Regions from separate parts of the Homo sapiens genome. Here regions 2, 3 and 4 are each linked to region 1. The links are contacts of gene promoters, found by promoter capture Hi-C in blood cells and fetal thymus (Javierre and others, 2016). All regions are on one chromosome and are shown on one strand. The core of a region is centred on a gene start or on the middle of the fragment in contact, and the rest is flanking DNA. Distances in the headings are between cores, read along the strand shown.

The links. The method cuts DNA at HindIII sites, captures the fragments that hold promoters and counts their contacts. A CHiCAGO score of 5 or more calls a contact.
Region 2: a contact is called between a fragment that was not itself captured here and the fragment with the promoter of NAA10 in region 1, in 5 of 17 cell types (non-activated CD4 T cells, naive B cells, naive CD4 T cells and 2 more). The highest score is 8.5, in non-activated CD4 T cells.
Region 3: a fragment that was not itself captured here is called in contact with the fragment with the promoter of NAA10 in region 1 in 1 of 17 cell types (non-activated CD4 T cells); the score reaches 6.5 in non-activated CD4 T cells.
Region 4: the fragment with the promoter of LAGE3 here is called in contact with the fragment with the promoter of NAA10 in region 1 in 4 of 17 cell types (monocytes, neutrophils, total CD8 T cells and 1 more); the score reaches 8.2 in monocytes.

What each region holds. Positions count from the first base shown.
Region 1 is chrX:153,933,787-153,936,839 of GRCh38, forward strand. NAA10 (N-alpha-acetyltransferase 10, NatA catalytic subunit) reads right to left here and starts at 1,251. Exons shown (of 8, transcript NM_003491.4): 1 at 1,098-1,251; 2 at 591-689; 3 at 157-215. The coding sequence starts at 1,118. It overlaps RENBP (renin binding protein), which reads right to left. Exons shown (of 11, transcript NM_002910.6): 10 at 1,703-1,790; 11 at 1,483-1,618. The coding sequence ends at 1,500. RefSeq lists a silencer at 941-1,520 and enhancers at 1,511-2,016, 2,017-2,521. The HindIII fragment of the contact is 15,713 bases long and covers 1-3,053 here.
Region 2 is chrX:152,953,320-152,956,111 of GRCh38, forward strand. The region is part of intron 18 of ZNF185 (zinc finger protein 185 with LIM domain); the gene reads left to right. Among named protein-coding and RNA genes, the nearest start is that of PNMA5, 39 kb to the right of the region's middle. The HindIII fragment of the contact is 5,746 bases long and covers 1-2,792 here.
Region 3 is chrX:154,446,100-154,448,832 of GRCh38, forward strand. It overlaps FAM50A (family with sequence similarity 50 member A), which reads left to right. Exons shown (of 13, transcript NM_004699.4): 4 at 316-461; 5 at 2,385-2,461; 6 at 2,591-2,657. Among named protein-coding and RNA genes, the nearest start is that of MIR6858, 2.9 kb to the right of the region's middle. The HindIII fragment of the contact is 2,108 bases long and covers 327-2,434 here.
Region 4 is chrX:154,477,896-154,480,838 of GRCh38, forward strand. LAGE3 (L antigen family member 3) reads right to left here and starts at 1,386. Exons shown (of 3, transcript NM_006014.5): 1 at 833-1,386; 2 at 388-516; 3 at 1-163. The coding sequence starts at 1,020. The coding sequence ends at 49. RefSeq lists a silencer at 780-999 and an enhancer at 1,261-1,760. The HindIII fragment of the contact is 14,076 bases long and covers 1-2,943 here.

The sequences.
Region 1 (3,053 bases), core at 1-2,500:
GCTGAGGGGTGCTATAAGAACTCCATGTCCTTTCTGTTCAATTTTTCTATAAACTTTCAACTGTACTGAAAAGAAGAAGCCTATTCATTTTTTTTAAAGCCCACAGAGGCATCCACCAGACACGTGTAGCTTCTGTCTTCCTCCTTGGTGACTCACATTTTGGCCAGGACATACCCCACAATCTTCCCATTCTCGTCCTCAGCAATGTAAGAGAGCTGGTGACAGGAAAACAGAGTGAGAAAACTTCTTGTCGGAGCTAGAAGAGCCCTTTAGAGGGACACAAACTGGACGAGTGGCGAGTTGTGTGATGGCTCATGACCTCCGGGCTGAGTGGCTTGGTCTCCCCCTCGCCACACTGTGCCCTGCCCATACCCAGAAAGAAGACGCAAAGTGGGGATCCTGCCCCTATTCTCTGCTCCCTTCGGGCGCCTTCTTTTCCTTTGCCCCTGTCTGCCAGCTGAAAACACCCAGGACGCCACCGACCATACAGCCCCCTGGGCTCTGACAGACTTGTCCACTCCCTCCAAGATGGCCAGATGGGATTTTCCTCGGCCTGCTTTCCCCCATGCCCAAATTCAGAAGCTGCCCACCTGGGGCCAGGAAAGGCCATGGTAGAAGTAGTATTTCATCTGGTAGTTCTCGGGCAGGCAGAGGAGGTTGCAGTGCTGCATGTTCATTAGGTCCTCTGGCTGCAGGGAAGGAGGGCAGTGGAACGCGCTCAGTCTAAGGCGGCGGTGACCACGGGTGAGAAGCCTGCTCCCCGTCGGTCTGCTCGGCCCCGCTCCCTCGGGGCTGGGCAGGCACTGTGACGATCTGACTTTGCACAACGCCCGGAGCACAGGAACAGGAGTGGGCGCCCCGGAGGTCCCCGGAGCCCACCCAACGGAGGCCCGACATCACGCAAACAGGAGGGAATCGCAGCCCCGGCCCCGCGCCCCGGCCTCTTCGGCGGGCTGGGCCAGCCCCATAGGTCCAGCGGCCGCAGGCACACTCAGGGCCACCGGGCCGGGCTCGGCCGGGGCCCTCGGGAGCATGCGCGGCAGCCACCCGGCCCGGCGCCCACGCGGCGCGGACAGCCTCCCGCCCCGGGCGCTCACCCTCGCATTGCGGATGTTCATAACGGCGGCGGGGCTCGCGGGTCCCAGCGGATCGTGAAGGCGCAGTCAGCTGCCGCCGCGCTCCGAAGCGACGCCGGGACGGCCGGGGCTGGGACCGGAGCTGGGCTCGCTGGGCGACGGCGGAAGGGGCGGTGCGCGCCGGGCCGGCCACCGGCCGGAAGTGCACGGCCGCCGGGCCCGTCCTCCCGGCCGCTTGGCCAATGCGCGGGACAGGCCAGCGCACGGGGCGGGCCAATGCGCGGAGCCGGTCAGCGCGGGGCGGGCCTGGGGGCGGGGCGGGCGCTGCCCCGGAGCTGGAGCCGGCCCCTCCCTCGGCGCGACAGCCCCCCTCCCGCGAGCCCACAGACGCGCGCACAGCCGCAGGTGGAGCGGACTCAGCCTTTATTCCGCGCCTCGGCAGGCGGGGGTGGGGGCGGGGGAGGGGGCGGGGGCGGGGCGGCTCAGCAGGGCGCCCAGCATCTCCTCGCACATGGCTAGGCACCGCGGCACGTGGAAGCAGCCTGCGGGTAGAGGCGGGCAGGTAGTGAGGGCCGGGGGCAGCCGAGAGGCGCAACCCCTGCGGCCCCGCCCTCTCCCCCACTCACCTTTGAAAGGACCTCCCTTGATGGAGAGGGCCACCTTGCCCTCTCGGCTCAGGTAGCCAAACCATTCCCCGTACTCGGGATCGCGAAACTGGAATAACAGAGACAGTGACAGCTAGCGCCTGCAGGACCCGCCCAGATGCCACTGCATCGCTACCAGGGGTCAGAGCCTGGGTTGACCCCAGGTGACGTGGCTCCAGAACCAGCGATCTTAACCGCGACACTGCGTCCTCCACAAAGATGAAAGCAGGGGTGGGCGCAGCAGGCAGGCTACAACTATATAACCGACTGGGCAAGGGGATGAGACACTGCTAGATGGAATGAAAGAACTCTGCCCTGGGGTGTAGAAACGTTGTCTATCGGGCCGGGAGCTGTGGCTTGCGCCTGTAATCCCAGCACTTTCGGAGGCCGAGGCGGGCGGATCACCTGAGGTCAGGAGTTCAAGATCAGCCTGGACAACATGGTGAAACCTCATCTCTACTAAAAATACAAAATTAGCCGGACGTGGTGGCACGCACTTGTAATCCCAGCAGTATACTCGGGAGGCTGAGGCGGGAGAATAGCTTGAACACAGGAGGCGGAGGTTGCAGTGAGCTGAGATCACGCCATTGCGCTCCAGCCTGGGTGACAGAGCGAGACTCCATCTCAAACAAACAAACAAACGAACAAACAAACAAACAAAAAAGTTCTCTATTGTGATTGTAGTCGTGGTTACGTTGATTCAAAGAAACAAAGAACCCGGCCGGGTGCAAAGGCTCACACCTGTAATCCCAGCACTTTGGGAGGCCGAGGCGGGCGGATCACAAGGTCAGGAGATCGAGACCATCCTGGCTAACACAGTGAAATCCCGTCTCTACTAAAATACAAAAAATTAGCCGGGAGTGGTGGCGGGCACCTGTAGTCCCAGCTACTCGGGAGGCTGAGGCAGGAGAATGGCGTGAACCCGGGAGGCGGAGCTTGCAGTGAGCCAAGATCGCGCCACTGCACTCCAGCCTGGGCAACAGAGCCAGACTCCGTCTCAAAAAAAAAAAAAAAAAAAGGAAAAGAAAAGAAACAAAGAACCCTGATGGAGGCGACGACCTGTCATGAAACTCTTAAGAAGTGACTCCCTTGGAGCTCCCATTCCCGGCTTCACAGGCCTGTCTTCCAGTAGATGCACAATCTCATCTGACTCCTGTCCTGGCTCACCATTGGTCCCAAACTCATCTCCTCCTCCCTCTGCCCCTGCCCAGTGCCCATTCCACTCTCTTTCCTTCTCTCTCCACTAGCATTCCATGGGGCACCTGTCTCAGGGAGGCTTGTCAGTTCAGCCCCTTCTCAAAAGGATCATGGACTCAATTACATTGAAGTCCAC
Region 2 (2,792 bases), core at 273-2,772, 980 kb before region 1:
ACAGAAAAGAACTGGGAAGAGCTCATTTAACAGAATCAAAGTAACTGAATCACAGAACCATAAAAAGTGTCCAATAAAAGCAAATACCGTCTCTGGGCAGGGTGCAATGGCTCACACCTGTAATCCCAGCACTTGAGAAGCTGAGGGAGGAAGATCACTTGAGCCCAAGGGTTCGAGACCAGCCTGGGTAACATAGCGAGACTCCTATATCTATAAAAATTTTAAAAATTAGCCAGGCATGGTGGTGTGTGCCTATAGTCCCAGCTACCTGGGAGGCTGAAGTAGTGGAGGATTGCTTGAGCCCAGGAGTTGAGGCTGCAGTGAACTATTATTGCACCACTGCACTCCAGCTTGGGTGACAGAGCGAGACCCTGTCTCAAAAACAAAAAACAAATATGGATTTAGATAGAGACTTTTATTTTATTTTATTTTATTATTTTTGAGACAGAGCCTTTCTCTGTCACCCAGGCTGGAGTGTAGGTGCCATCTCAGCTCACTGCAACCACCACCTCCCGGGTTTAAGCAATTCTCCCGCCTCAGCCTTCTGAGTAGCTGGAATTACAGGCGTGCGCCACCATGCCCAGCTAATTTTTCAATTTTTAATAGAGATGGGGTTTCGCCATGCTGGCCAGGCTGGTCTTGAACTCCTGACCCCAAGTGATTCACCCGCCTTGGCCTCTCAAAGTGCTGGGATTACAGGTGTGAGCCACCGTGCCCGACCAATACTTTATTTAAAAAGACTATTGCAATAGGGACAATGCTGCAACCTCAGGACTTGCAAACATCACAAAATAATACAAAAAACATCACAAAATAATAAAAAAAAAAAAGCCTTTTTTTTTCAGTAGGGAGTAGTAAGCACAGCTAGCAGCTCAGCTACTTTCAAGGGCCAGTGGGCAAGCAAAGGGGAACCTGTTTGGCATGATTTGACCAGAAATGTGTTTCCCTGTGGTCAGCCGGTTCTCAGGAGAAGCTGCTAAGTGGGGCATGTTCTGCATTGCAGCACTTACTTAACCAGGAGCAAGCAAAATTCAGGCCCTGTGGGGAGGACAGAAGCCTGCCTAACATTCTGTCAAGGCAAAGGAGAGGGTAAAAAGCAGACAGCTGTGAACACTTGATCATCCTTCAGGCAATAATCCATTCTGGGTTTCTGGCTTAAGACTCTTGAGAAACAAGGGGAAACAACTGGTAGGAGCAGCAGGCTCACCTATATGTAGTTCCGTGAGGTAGCCTTATGGACTTCTGCCACCTTCCAAAACTCAGCATGTCCCAAACCATCTTTATCAACACAGCTTCTCACCAAAAACAACCAAATAAAACAAATTAACTAATGTACTAATTCTGTATCTCCCCCTGTGTTGTTCATCTCAAAAAACTGTTATCACCTCATTGACTCAGACTCTCAACCAGCGAGGTAGAAGAAATGTTTGGGGGCATGTTAAATGTAACACCTATGAGACATGTAAGAGGTGAGGTGCAGGACGCAGGTACATGGTGATAAAAGAAAAACCTCAGCCGGATTAAATTTAAAGGAGTTTCATTGAGCAATGAACTATTTGTGAATCGGGCAGCCCCCAGAATCACAGCAGATTCACAGAGACTCCAGTGCAGCTACATGGTGGAAGATTTATAGATTAAAAAAAAGGTGGAGGGGGGGAAATGACGTACAGAAATTGGAAGTGAGGTACAGAACGGCTGGATTGGTTACAGGTTGGGGGTATGCCTTATTTGAACACAGTTTGAACACTCACCAGTGTATGAATGGTTGAAGTATGGCCGCTGGGATTGGCCAAGAGTTAGCTATTGTTACAGGTACACACTCCTAAGTTAGGTTTTCAATTTTGTCTGCCTCTAGGTTACAGTTTATTGACAAAGACTCAAATATAGAACTATGGAGTCCTTCTCAGGCCGTATTTAATTTGCTTTAACAATTCCCCCTTTTTGGTCATTTTCTCAACTTTGAGAGATTGACAAAAACCTTAGTTATTGATATCACTATTACCCTTGTAAATGTACTTATATGGTCTTGAAACCCACTGGGAAACAGGAGGACAGTGGGTTTTGTAAGGAGAGAATAAGGACTGAGTAGAAGGTACCTCTTTATGCTAGAATGTTCTGTTTACAGGACAAAAACAAAACCTGGTCTGTTTTAATAACTATTTGTTTCCTTAAAGTCTTAGTTTGATTATGTTACATTTAGCATGAGCAACTCCATTTTGTTTGGTTTGGTCTGTTGGGTCCTAGTGCATGAGCTCAGTACACAACAATGGCTTGCCAGAATTTTGTTTAAAAAATTCCCCTTGGCTGGGCGTGGTGGCTCATGCCTGTAATCCCAGCACTTAGGGAGGCTGAGGCGGGCAGATCACGAGCTCAGGAGATCGAGACCATCATGGCCAACATGGTGAAACCCTGTCTCTACTAAAAATACAAAAATTAGCCGGGCGCGGTGGCATGCGCCTGTAATCCCAGCTACTCGGGAGGCTGAGGCAAGAGAATCACTTGAACCTGGCAGTCAGAGGTTGCAGTGAGCCAAGATCACGCCACTGCACTCCAGCCTGGTGACAGAGCGAGACTCCACCTAAAAAAAAAAAAAAAAAATATTTCCCCTTATTGGCCAGGTTCTCACTTAGGTGAGAGTGTGACCAAAACTTAGGGCCTTAGCACCACTTTTAGTTACCTAGTTACCATCATTTTAGGTTTCCAGTCTCAGCATGTCATTCATAGGTTATGATGTCCTCATAATCATACATTTCAATCAGTTTTGTTATTCCAGTTGAAGAGAGACCATTTGA
Region 3 (2,733 bases), core at 131-2,630, 510 kb after region 1:
GCTTGTCTTCTTTCTGACCCTCTAAATGCAGTGGGCCCTTTCCCAGCATCCGGTGCCTGAGCAGCCTGCGTTCTCCCCATTGCCAGCCTGTGCTTGGCTCTCCCCTGTGGCCCTCTGTGCTTGCTGTTTGTAACAGAGCCCTCGCCCATGAGCTCAAAGTGATCCAGGACAGCAGGACCCGTCTGGGGCAATGGGGACCCAGCCTGGGCTGGGCAGGCCCCACATAGGGCACACAGGTGGCTCTGGGTCAAGGAAGGGGCTGGGTCAGGGTCGGGAAGGACATGATGTGTGATGGGGCCACCTGCACCTCACTAGGAAGCTGGAGAAGCTTCGAGAGAAGGAGCGTAAGAAGGAAGCCAAGCGGAAGATCTCCAGCCTGTCCTTCACCCTGGAGGAGGAAGAAGAGGGAGGCGAGGAGGAAGAGGAGGCGGCCATGTATGAGGAGGAGATGGAAAGGGAAGGTGAGGGCTGGCTTGAGTCGGAGCCCCGCCCGCAGCCCCTGGGGAGGGGTCCCCAATGTGAGAGGCTGTCAGCAAAGCTGATGCCCTGTCAAGATGGCTCCAAAAGCTGCCCTCTTGAGGCACCGCGCACAGTAGACCGGGGAGGGAAGAGGCTGGTCTAGACCAGGCTGGCTGGGCACATTTTCTGTGATGATGGAAATGTTAGAGTCTGTGCCACCCAATATGGTAGCCACTTGCCCCAGGTGCCTCGTATGACTGGGGCACTAAATGGTGAATTCTGTTTGATTTGTTTCAGCGTAAATGTATACAGCCACAGAAATTCCGAGGCTACTAGTCAGACACTGCAGGTCTCAGCTGTGAGAACAAGGGGCTGTCAGGGAAAGCTCAGGATGGCTGGGGAGTGAGGGTAAAGCCAGCCTGGCCTCCACGTGTGCCACACACCTGTGCTGTGCCTGGCCAGGGCACATAGGGTGCTGTCCCTCTCCTGGTGGAAGTCACGGGTCACCATGCACTGAAGACACTACTCAGGGTTACTGCTCTGCTTGGGGCCCACCGGGCTAACCCAGGGGTCAAGGAAGGAGGGGAGGGTTGAGTTAGGCCCTAAGGATGAGGGGAGTTGCATTCGCCAGAGAGGCAGGAGGGGCGACGAGAAAGTACATGCCAGAAGCCCAGCAGGAAAGAGCTTTTCAAAACGTTTGAAGATTGGGAGCAAGTTGTGTCACGGGCCCCTGGAGGGTGTGGTGGCAGTTCTGGAAATTGTGTCACCCAGGGAATGGCAGAGGGAGAGAAGCGAGGCAGGGGATGGTGCTGTGTGGCTGTGGTAACAGGCTGGGTGCCATGGCTTTGAGGGGAGTGCAGGATTGTAGGGAGGAAGAACCTGCCAGCCACCTGCCATTTGGGTTCCATGTTCCAGCAGCCACAGTAAAACATAGAAAAAGAAACAAGCAGGATTTTAGTATGACATTGTATTTAACCCAGCGTATCCAAAATATCACCATTGCGGCAGGCGCACTAGCTGCAATGCTGGGGTGCTGTGTGCAGCGGGAGCTACTGGTTTGTGTTTGTGTTTTTGTTTTGGTTGTTGTTGTTTTTGAGACAGTGTCTCCCTGTGGCCCAGGCTGGAGTGCAGAGGGGCGATCACAGCTTACTTCAGCCTTGACCTCCTGGACTCAAGGGACCCTCCCACCTCAGCCACTTGAGTAGCTGGGACTACAGGCGCTTTGTATTTTTGTATTTTTTGTAGAGACGGAATCTCGCCATGTTGCCCAAGCTGGTCTCGAACTTGGGAGCTACTGGCGTGGACAGTGCAGGCCTGGGGGAAAGGTTGTCACCCTCACTGTGTGTCACTGGGGCTTTTACAAAACACTGCTTGGTGGGCTCTTCCCTCCCTCCACAGGTTCCGTTTAGGGGGCCCAGCCACAAGACCCCAGGCTCTAGAATCTCTGCCCTTGAGCATCAGGCTAAAGAGTTTAGATTTGTCTTTTTTTGTTGTTCTTTTCTTTTTTTTCTTTCTTTTTTTTTTTTTTGAGATGAGGTCTCACTCTGTTGCCCAGGCTAGAGTGCAGTGGTTTGATCACGGCTCACTGCAGCCCCGACCTCGCAGGCTCAAGCGATCCTCCCACCTCAGCCTTCTGAGTAGCTGGTACTACAGGTGCGCCACCACACCCGGCTGATTTTTTTGAGTTTTAGTAGAGACGAGGTCTTGCTATGTTGCCCATGCTGGTCTCCACCTCCTGGGCTCAAGTGATCCTTCTGCCTCATCCTCCCCAAGTGTTGGGTTGACAAGCGTGAGCCTCTGTGCCCGCCCTAGGCTTGTCTTCTAGATCGACTGTTCTCAAGGTATGCTTGGGGGACCCTGGGCGTCGGCCATATCAAAATCATTTTTATAATAATGCTATGATATTCGGCTTCCTTTTGTTCCAGAGATCACCACGAAGAAGAGAAAACTGGGGAAGAACCCAGACGTTGACACAAGCTTCTTGCCTGATCGAGACCGTGAGGTAAAGGCTGCCTGGCCCTGACCCCGGCCTCGACTCCAGCCCTGGTGGAGACCCTTGCTTAGGGAGCCAGGCTCTGCGTGCACCCTGAGCAGCCCTGGGCCTCACCTGTCTGCCTGCTCCCTCTCCCAGGAGGAGGAGAATCGGCTTCGGGAAGAGCTGCGGCAGGAGTGGGAAGCCAAGCAGGAGAAGATCAAGAGTGAGTGTTTGCGGAGTCAGACGCGAGGGGCCTGGGCCCAAGCCAGCTTCCCTGTCCACAGTCTCCTGGGTGGTGC
Region 4 (2,943 bases), core at 136-2,635, 540 kb after region 1:
TACAAGGAGACGCAAAGTGGGACCTCGCTCCATTTGCCCAGGCCAGGCTTAGCGGGAAACGGGGGGCCCAAAGCGCTGCATGGTCCGCACCACCAGGGAAAGCTGGTCAAGAAAGTTGATGACGGAAATTCGGAGCAGGCGACAGTCTTCAGCTTTCCAGCGGCTAAAAGTGAGGGGAAAAGAAAATCAAATTGGAGGTGGCAACTCCTGGTCCCTCGCTCTGCCCCTCAGGCACCCAATATAGCAAACCCTTGGGAGCCCTGCCATTACACAGCCCCTCAGGCAGAGACCGGCCCAGCGCACCTGGCGCTCCTTAGGGCTCATCCTTGGATGTCCCCCATGTCTCCATGGGCCGCCTCCCCCAACCCCGTCCCTTTCAGAACTTACACGACCAGGATCCTGCCACTCACTGTGAGATCCTTCCCAACCACCCTTTGGTGGGGCTCGGCATCTGGTGCCAGGGACCCATGGGCGATTTCCGCCTCCAAGGGGGTCGGGAAAGGCACGCTGAGGGTGCTGGGGGTCATTCGGTTAAGGTGCCATCTGATACGATCTTGCCTATGTCTCAGGCCTTCTTGCTCCTCTGAAGCCCCCTCTCAGGTCACCCTGCCTAGTGTCACCCCCTTCACTCCTTACCTCGCCCAGGCCACCGTTAGCAGAGCTTCTCCCTCCATTTCAATGTCTTCCCCTCCTCCGACCACCTCTGACCGTATACGCCAGCCCCGGTCCCCCCCTGCTACCCTTTCCGTCGGCCCCCCGCCCGCCCTCCTTTCCTTCTCCCCGAGTCCAGCCCTCGCTCCGCCGCAAGCAGCCCCCAGCTCGGAAAGGATACAATATGTGCGGCCGCATTCGTGACCCCCTGGCCGCAGACGCGGCGTCTCTGCCCGGACCTGGCGCGTGCGCTGGGGGAGCTCCACCGGCCGGAGCTGCGGCTGTGTCCACGCCCCCGCGGCAGCTGTGGCCACCCCGGCCATCCCCGCCGTCAGCGCCTCCGCCTGCGTCTGCATCCGCGTCCCGCATGACCGCCGCCGCGCCGCTCCGACTCCACCCCCGAAGCGCAGGTCCTACGCCCCGCCCTCTCTGTGGCTCCTTCCCGAAGCCCCGCCCCCTGCGCACGACTCCGCCCACACGCGCCTGCGCAGGTCCCTGGAGAGCCTGACTGGCGCGTGGTCAGTTCCCGCCAAGCGGCCCTGCCGGGGGCCTTCTGAGACCCGGTCAGCGGTTGAGAGGCTGCGGTTTCCTCCAGAAACTCTGCCCTTTCGCGCGTAACTCGATTCCAGAGCGCTGGTGCAAACTGACCCACAGTCGGTCCGGCCCCAGGAAGCCAACCCTGACGGGGCTTTTGAAGACACCGTGGTCGCCTATCCCAGAGGCGCACCCCGCGAGGCTCCGCCCCTAAGCGCGCCTTGTGACCTTAGCGCGCCTGCGCTGGCGGGGCCTTCCCCCTTGTCCCTGGAGGCCCCAGTGAGGCCCTGCGGTGCCTGGACGGCTTCCCGCCCCGTTTCTTACCTGGACCCAAGAGCCCCAGGAGATGTGGCACAACGTCCATGTTGCGATTCGCAGAGGGAGGGTGGCCGGGTCGGGTAACCCCCAAGGATACTGCTCTTGCCCTCAACCCCAGTGCCCAACCAACGGGGCTTCACCATGGACTGTGAAGCATCGGATGTGCATTTTAGAGGAAGCATTTTAGAGCGGGTGGGCTGTGCAGAGCGGGGGAGCCTGTCAGCAGGAGGCCTGCACGGAGGCGAAAAATGACAGGGCCTTGAATGAAAGTACTGGCGGTGGGTCTAGGTCTAATATAACGTGAAAAATCAGACTGCACAACTATGAGTATGAAAATGCCAGTTTAGGCCAGGCAAAGTGGCCCCCGCTTGGAATCCCAGCACTTTGGAAGGCCAAGGGAGGAGGATCACTTGAGCCCAGGAGTTCAAGACAAACACAGGCAACATAGTGAGACCCCGTCTCTACAAAAAATACAAAAATAAATTTTAAAAGTTAGCTGGGAGTGGTGGAGCGTGCCTGTAGTCATAGCTTCTTGGAGGCTGAGGAGGGTTGATTGCTTGAGCCCGGGAGTTCGACACCAGCCTGGGCAACATAGTGAAACCCTGCCTCTACAAAAAATACAAAAATTAGCTGGGTGTGATGGTGCACACCTGTGGTCCCAGCTACTAGGGAGGCTGAGATGGGAGGACAGCCTGAGCCCGGGAGGCAGAGGCTGCAGTTAGCCGTGATCGCCCCACCGCACTCCAGCCTGGTTGATAGAGCCAGACCCCGCCTCAAAAAATAAAAGAAAATGCCAACTTAGTCTCTTACTGTACATATGTAGAGAAATCCTAGAACAATACAGCGTCAGGTAAATCCTCATGATCTCTGCTAATAGTATGGTGGGTGACTTTAATTTCCTTTTTGTGTTTTCCCTCCAATTTTTCCGAAGTGGTCTTTTATGACATTTACAATAAAAAAAAAAGTATTTAAAGTGACATCAGTCCGGGCACGGTGGCTCACGCCTATAATCCCAGTACTTTGGGAGGCCGAGGCGGGTGGATCACTTGAAGTCAGGAGTTCAACACCATCCTGGCCAACATGGTGAAACCCCCGGCCCTACTAAAAATAACAAAAATTAGCTGCGTGTCGTGGTGTGCGCCTGTAGTCCCAGCTATTCGGGAGGCTGGGACAGAAGAATCACTTGAACCCGGGAGGTGGAGGTTGTGGTGAGCCGACATCACGCCACTGCACTCCAGCCTGGGCGACAGAGGGAGACTGTCTCAAAAAGAAAAATAATAAAAATAAAAAATGAATAAATAAAGTGACATAAAATTTCCAACAGTGTTTGTCATGTTTGGACAACCTATTTTCCTCCTTTGCAGTCATAAGGAAGGATTAAACACTGAACTATATCAGCAAATCCTGTTGGGTTTCCCTCTGAAATAGGTTCCACATCAG